Regions from separate parts of the Homo sapiens genome. Here region 1 is linked to region 2. Evidence: promoter capture Hi-C in 16 types of primary human blood cells and fetal thymus (Javierre and others, 2016). All regions are on one chromosome and are shown on one strand. The core of a region is centred on a gene start or on the middle of the fragment in contact, and the rest is flanking DNA. Distances in the headings are between cores, read along the strand shown.

Region 1 (3,955 bases), core at 1,196-3,695, 8.3 Mb after region 2:
ATATGTTGAAATCCTAACTCCCAGGGTGATATTAGGAGATGATTAGGTCATGAGGGCAAAGCCCTTATGAATGGGATTAGTGCCCTCACAAAAGAGACCCCAGGGAGCTCAATGGCCCCTTCTTCCATGTGAGGACACTGCCAGAAGTTAGCAGTCTGCAACCAGAAGAGGGCCCTCACCAGAACCTAACCATGCTGGCACCCAGATCTCAGACTTCCAGGATCCAGAACTCTGAGAAATAAATTTATTGTTTACAAGTCATTCAGTCTTTGGTAATTTCTTATGGCAGCCCAAAAGGACTGAGACAGGCACTGTGGTAGATGTAGCAACAACAGTTGAGTAAGATACTAGACATAACTATTACTGCTGTGAATGAGTTCCGGAAGCTGCAGTCTCACTGGTCCTTCGGGTCATCATCCAGCTTTCAGTTAGGGGAAGCTGGCAGGTAAGGTGAAAACAGAACTGGATTCAAATCCTGACTTTGTCACTTAGTACAGCTATATTATTTTGGATAAATTGCTTAACCTTTGAACTTCAACTTCCATATCTATAGAATGGGGATAATAATATCTATCTCACCGAATCATTATAAGGATTAGTTGAGTTAATATATGTAAAAATGCTTTAAACAGTGTGGAGCCCTATACTAGGTTATCAAAATAGTTAGTTTCTCTTTAAAAAAATGGACACATATAAATCCATCATTTAAAAAACTCTCCAAAGATCTGCTTCCTTAAGCACTTAAATAAACCTTCTTAAAGTTTAATTATTGGAACATTTCTTCCTTAGCTCTCACTTAAAACTCTTCAGGTTGGATCATAAATCTATTTTCTCTTATTTAATTCTCCAGCAAGGCACAACAGGTAGTTGATAGTCTCTATATTTGAAAAGTTTTAGTAAACCATTATTATAACCTCCTCTTTCCTAGCAGAGTCCTGGTTTCTTTACCTTTCCTGACAGATCTAATGCAGAATTTTAGTAACTACTGGGGCTCCTCTCCAAATCCTTGTGGAAATCTCCATATCTCTTAACCTGTGAGGAAACAAGGCAGAAGTAGAATTATTTTGATCCATGAATTAGGTCAATATATTTGATAATTTTCTTTATATCTTCTCAGTGTCCTTTATCTATACTTTGTCTTCATTAGGAAACATTTGCTACATATATGCCCCAAGATGAAAGAAAAATATAGTACAAAAAACTTTAAAAGATACTGTTTATAAAAAGAATCTTTAAGAAACTATTTTAAAGGAACTCAGTTTAAAAAGACACTTAGGTGGAACGTGGATACAAAAATTTAAGTTTTTAAGCTTACGTCACTAACAATTAACAAGGATTGTTAATCCCCGACCAGGGCTCGTCTTAGCATATAAAACACCGTTCTTGATTTCCTATTGGAAACCTACTTGATATTAATTGATCTAGAGACTTTGAAGATTATTGGGACATACCACTAGCAGGGTATGTCTTATTTTCAAATCACCAACTATTACTGCCACAATAGACCTGTGTTTAACCACTAAACTGAACGTTATAGCTTCCGGACTTTTTCATTTGCTAAGAGAAAAGGGAAGGTAAAATTTAGTAGGCTACAAAGGGTAAAAAGAAGAAAGTGCAAACAGTAAGACTACAATTGTATTACATGGTGGTGGAACGTCGGATGAGCTGGAACATATTCAGATGGACTCATGGTCAAGGATATCTTCACTCATAGGGTCAGTGGAAAATAAACATAAACCAACATTGGGATGGCCTCTTTTTTTGATACACCAATTGGTTGAAACTGGATTCCTTCCAGACTTACAGACAGGTTCACACATGTTAGTGAGTCTTTACATCTGTTTGTACAATGACCCTCTTTCTGAGCTGCCTGACTGGGTCCCCAATCCGTGCGGGGTCACTGCCATTCTTCCCTGGGAATCAAGGCTTCCTAGGAGTTTGTTAAATCCCATCCCTGGCTAAACTCGGGTCTCCAATCTCCCATCTGCTTTGTGTGTGAGAGGCTCCGGGGTGTGAGAGGAAAGGCACTGAAGAGGGAGTGAAAGAAGTGGTGAGGGGGGACTGCCTACTAGCTGAGACGATATCTTATTTTTGGCGGGGGATGCTCTGGAAGCGGGGAGGCTGAACTCACTTGGAAAAACTGGAGCTGTGGGGCAGACTCTCAGCGACCGGAACGACAGCCGCCAGCGCCCTTAAGTCTCCCTCCCCACCCAGTCCCCTCCCGCAGACCCCGGGGCCGGCTGAAGGGAGATCAGCAAGTCCCCGCGCAAACTGGCCGAGAATAGCTGTGACGGAGGTTGGAAGGGCGTGGGGGGCAGCGACTTGGATGCAGCCCACATCCCCCCATTCCCAGCCCCAGAAAGGAGGGAGAAACAGCACCTTCCAGCAGGGGTCGCGACCTAACGCTCAACAGCATCCTCTCTTCTCCGGCCGCTCCCTCATCTCCGCTCGCGCCCGGCGCCCCACTGCCGCGCATGCGCACCGCAGGCCGGCGCCATGTTGGGGCGGTTTGAAAGCGAGCGCGGGTGTCGAGCTCTGCTGTGACTGCGGAGGAAGCTGCGAGTGAGCCGAGCCTGAGGCGGGGCGGTGTCCGGGTTGGGGATGCTTTGTGGTGTCTCGCGTTGGGTAACAGGCCTGAGCTTTCGGCGGAGAGCTGTGGAAGTGTGCGGTTTTTGTTTTTGTTTTCCTTTATTTTTATTTTGGGGCCTTAGGGGTGAGTTAGGACGGAAAGGAGGGTGTCTTTTCGAGGGTTGTCCCATCCTGTGACAGCCGAGAAAAGGCGAAAGGAGAGTGGCGAGGAAAGAGGAGGAGACGTCTCCTGAGGGAGGGCGCTTGTGGAGTCTCTGTGGAAGGAAGAACACTGTAGGGGGAGTGCCCCCTGGGCGAGGGAGGGTCGCGGGACGCGGCGGAGGGGGCTCACACGGGCGTCTGCGGACCTGAGGCGGCGACAGGAAGGGGCTTGCGCTCTGGGGCTGTCGCTTCGGAACACTTCTCCTTCAGTCCATTGCTGCGCTCGCCCTGGCTGCTGAATAAATGGTTTCGGAGTGAAAAGCATCTCACTGAAGAACTTGTCTGTGTCTGTGACTGACGGGCGGTGGAACACCAAAGGGAGGGTGTCGCCTGATTGGGACTGGAAAAATTGGAATTCAGGGCGCCCGGGGTAGGGGAACGATGCGCACTGCTGGAGACGGGCGACCTTCGCTGGCCGGTCGGTGGGTTCCTGGTTTTCTGCTGCCGAGTAAACAAACGTTCCCTTTCCTAACTTAGCAGTCACAGAGCTATTTCCAAGAGTTGTTCTTAATTTCCTGTGCGATATTCCCATTGGCTATTTAACACTGAACATTCTGTTTTTGAATCAAAGTTAGTTAAAATTTGTTGTCAATAAGTTTAACATTCTGTTCTTCCGCGTGATGGATTTTCTTTTGGAGATTCGAACTGAAGCCTGTACGGAGGAAATGGTAAGATATATGGGATTTGCATGAGATATGTGGGGTTCAAAATAATCCTGTGGCTGAAGTGGGGAGAAGTGGGTGGGTCCCTACCCACTTTAGCTACAATTGGGGTCTGTTCAGCGATTGTTGGAAGCAGGATGATGAGTACATAGGGGTTTATTGAACGATTCTACTTTTGTATACTCTTTTGGGGAAAAGTTGGAAAACTTTTCATAATGAAACTTAAATTGTGCATTTTCTTTTTGTCTGTCCTGTGAGTTGAAATAACTAGTAAATGTTATCACCCACTTACGGAGACCAATACAACAGCTTTCTCTTTCAAGGTTTTGTAAAATAAAATCAGTAGCCTGTTCGGCATTCAAAGACAGAAAACATTTGGTCAGGCTTATCCAAACAAATTTACTTGAGTGAGTTTAAACTTCTTTAAATAAAAGGGATACGAAAAAGGTAAAGCTGGCTTAGTTTAGCCATTCGTCAGAGATATACCAGTATTACAGAATTCA
Region 2 (3,778 bases), core at 767-3,266:
GCTGGAGTGCAGTGTCTCAATCTCAGCTCACTGCAAACTCTGCCTCCAGGGTTCAAGTGATTCTCTTGCCTCAGCCTCCCAAGTGGCTGGGATTACAGGCACGTGCCACCATGCCTGGCTAATTTTTGTATTTTTAGTAGAGATGGGGTTTTGCCATGTTGGTCAGGCTGGTCTTGAACTCCGGACCTCAGGTGATCCACCTGCCTCGGCCTCCCAAAGTGCTGAGAATATAGGTGTGAGGCACCGCATCCAGCCAGAGCAGAGATATGTTTGAAGCAAAAAGAATAAGCAAGACAGGCTGGGTGTGGTGCCTCATGCTTGTAATCCCAGCACTTTGAGAGGCCCAAGTGGGAGCATCACTTGGGGCCAGGAGTTCAAAAACAGCCTGGGCAACATAGTGAGACCCTCTTTCTACAAAAAATACAAAAAGTTAGCTGGGTGTGGTGGTGCACGCCTATAGTCCCAGCTACTAAGGAGGCTGAAGCGGGAGGATTGCTTGAGCCCAGGAGTTCAAGGTTGCAGTGAACTGTGATCACCACTATACTCCAGCTTGGACGAAAGAGCAAGACCCTGTCTCTAAAAATAAAATAAAATAAATAATAAATAAGCTTGGCTTGCTAGTAAGTTTCCTTTGAAAAGAAAATCATTTTAGGCTGGGTGTGTTGGCTCACACCTGTAATCCTAGCTCTTTGAGAGGCCGAGGCAGGCAGATCACTTGAGGTCAGGAGTTTGAGACCAGCCTGATCAACGTGGTGAAACCCCCCGTTCTACTAAAAATAAAAAAATTATCCCTGCATGCTAGCACAAGCCTGTAATCCCAGCTACTAGAGAGGATGAGACAGGAGAATTGCTTGAGCCTGGGGACGGGGGTTGGAGGTCGCAGTGAGCCAAGATCATGTCACTCTGCACTCCAGCCTAAGCGACAGAGAAACACTCCATCTCAAAAAGAAAAGAAAAGGTCGGGCGCAGTGCCTGTAATCCCAGCACTTTGGGAGGCCAAGGCGGGCGGATCACCTGAAGTCAGGAGTTCGAGACCAAGCTGGCCAACCTGATGAGATCCCATCTTTACTAAGATACAAAAAATTAGCTGGGCGTGGTGATGCACACCTGTAATCCCAGCTACTCGGAAGGCTGAGGCAGGAGAATCGCTTGAACCCGGGAAGCAGAGGTGGCAGTGAGCTGAGAGCCGAGAGCCGAGATCGTGCCACTGCCCTCCAGCCTGAACAACAGAGACTCCATCTCAAAAAAAAAAAAAAAAAAAAAAAAGCTGGGCGCGCTGGCTCACGCCTGTAATCCCAGCACTTTGGGAGGCCGAGGTGGGCGGATCATGAGGTTAGGAGTTCGAGACCAGCCTGGCCAATATGGTGAAACCCCGTCTCTACTAAAAACACAAAAATTAGCCAGGCGTGGTGGCGCTTGCCCGTAGTCCCAGCTACTTGGGAGGCTGAGACAGAAGAATCGCTTGAACCCAGGAGGCAGAGGTTGCAGTGAGCCGAGATCATGCCACTGCACTCCAGCCTGGGCGACAAAGCGAGACTCTGTCTCAAAAAAAAAAAATGTCCCTAGTTTTTAGGTTGGGGGAACTAACGGATCAAGTTAAGATTGCCTCAGCTCATATTGCCAGGGTAGAATATAAATTCTGAGTGGATGCAATCAATGTGGAAGAAACACAAACATCTTGCTAAGCAAGAACCAAACGTTTCAAGTACTTTTTTTTAACGACAAGTGATTCAAACAAGAAATAAAAATAAAAGAAAGAAAAAACAACCTGGTTCTAGGCGGCTCTATCTCTCGTAGTGTTGATTATACCGCGGAAGGCGGGAAGAGCTGGGAAGTGGCAACGAAGCGAGGCTTGCAATGCCAGAGCCTTCGACCAGCCTTGCACAGGGGCTCAACGGCCAGGAGTCTCAGGTAAAACCACAACTCCCAGAAATCCCGGGCCCGGCGAGGGGCGGGTGCCAACGGCGTGTGGGCGGGGCCTAGGGAGTGAGCGGGGCGCATCTCCCGCTAGGAGTTCCTAGTAAAGTGGCGGGAGCCGCAGCTATGGAGCCGCAGGAGGAGAGAGAAACGCAGGTGATGGGGCGGGAATGGGGATCGTTGGCCTCCTGGAAAACGCGTTTTTGACACCCCCGCGCCGACAGCGGGTCTCCTGTGCGCGCCACGTCTACTTTTCTCTCCCCTATTCCACACATCCGTCTTTTAGTGCCGCCGTCACTATCTGCAAGCCCCCCGTGCTTAGACTCTCCTGAAGGCCTTTCCCTTCCTGCCCGGGCCTCCCCTTGTTTGGATCTGGCCCGGGAGAGGCGTTGAGCAGCCCGTGTCCACAGACTCTGGAGTGGGACTTATGAAGCCAAACCCGCCTTCCGGTTCGCTGCTCAGCCCGGCGGCTTCCACATCTGAACTGCTTCCGCGCCCTGCATCCCAACACTGGGAGCCTCCCGGCGCGGCGGGGCTTCTGGTGATCGAGGGACAATTGCTTTTTTCAGACCATGCACGGTCTAATAATGCGTTCGCATTATTATGGTCTATTAAGCTTTAAGGTTTTTCAAGCGAGGCAAATTGTTAGCCTGTACCGCTTTTGCAGATTTGGAAAAGAACGGATTGTTCTCTGGTAATTTTCAGTATTGTACGTTTCTTTGTGTACTTGCTCACTTTTTATTTCCTGATATCTAGTATCTCCCTAAAGACAAGTGAGGTTGTGAAGTAGGACTCCAAAATAGTCACAGAAAGCATTTAGTTTGCTTTTGATCACTTCTTTGTCATATTCTCATCGAGCCATTACAGTAAACAAGGCTTATAATATTTGTCTTTCTTTTAATGGTTAGGTTGCTGCGTGGTTAAAAAAAATATTTGGAGATCATCCTATTCCACAGTATGAGGTGAACCCACGGACCACAGAGATTTTACATCACCTTTCAGAACGCAACAGGGTCCGGGACAGGGATGTCTACCTGGTAATAGAGGACTTGAAGCAGAAAGCAAGTGAATACGAGTCAGAAGGTGAGATTAAGTCCAGAGTTTTGAACGAGAATAAATAGAGGTAACCAAATTTTATAACACTAAAGTATACAGGATTAATTTACTGTAGACTACTTGTTTTGCTCCTTTATTTTTCCCAGATTTTCTTCCACTCTGTTATAGTAGTAACTTTATTGTTTTATGTTTATATATATGTATATGTATGTGTGTGTGTGTGTGTGTGTGTGTGTGTGTGTGTGTGTGTGTATATATTTTAGACAATCTTGCTCTGTCGCCCAGGCTGGAGTGCAGTGGTGTGATCTCAGCTCACTGCAACCTCCATCTCCTGGGTTCAAGTGATTCTCATGCCTCAGCCTCCCAAGTAGCTGGGACTACAGGCCTGCACCACCACACCCGGCTAATTTTTGTGTTTTAGTAAAGACAGGGTTTCACAATATTGGCCAGGCTGGTCTCGAACTCCTGACTTCAGGTGATCCGCCTGCCTCAGCCTCCCAAAGTGGTAGGATTAGAGGCATGAGCCACCCTGCCTGGCCAGTAGTAATTCTCTAAGTAATAAATGTTATTATACTAAATATCTTATTGGTACTCTGATAGCAAAACAGTAAGCCTTAAAAGAGTCTAAACTTGTTAGTCTGACACACAAGATGCCTTGTGGTTTTTTACTTACCTATCTGTTTTTTCTGTTTCCGGTCTCCATGATTTAGTCATACGGACCTATCAGGACACCTGAGGTGGTGGCCATGAAATGTGAGACTTGGACGAAATTACTCTATGACTACGTATCAGGAGATTGCATTAG

What was found. Contacts are between HindIII fragments. The CHiCAGO score rates a contact against its expected background, and 5 or more counts as called.
Region 1: a contact is called between the fragment with the promoter of STARD6 here and the fragment with the promoter of HAUS1 in region 2, in 1 of 17 cell types (total B cells). The highest score is 5.7, in total B cells.

What each region holds. Positions count from the first base shown.
Region 1 is chr18:54,355,413-54,359,367 of GRCh38, forward strand. STARD6 (StAR related lipid transfer domain containing 6) reads right to left here and starts at 2,446. Exons shown (of 8, transcript NM_139171.2): 1 at 2,380-2,446; 2 at 949-1,032. C18orf54 (chromosome 18 open reading frame 54) reads left to right here and starts at 2,494. Exons shown (of 9, transcript NM_001288980.2): 1 at 2,494-2,663; 2 at 3,362-3,458. RefSeq lists enhancers at 2,998-3,509, 3,011-3,080. The HindIII fragment of the contact is 3,120 bases long and covers 1,309-3,955 here.
Region 2 is chr18:46,102,369-46,106,146 of GRCh38, forward strand. It overlaps HAUS1 (HAUS augmin like complex subunit 1), which reads left to right and starts at 2,017. Exons shown (of 9, transcript NM_138443.4): 1 at 2,017-2,073; 2 at 2,826-3,000. The coding sequence starts at 2,044. It also overlaps a transcript of ATP5F1A not described here. RefSeq lists a silencer at 1,842-1,941 and an enhancer at 2,332-2,421. The HindIII fragment of the contact is 1,925 bases long and covers 607-2,531 here.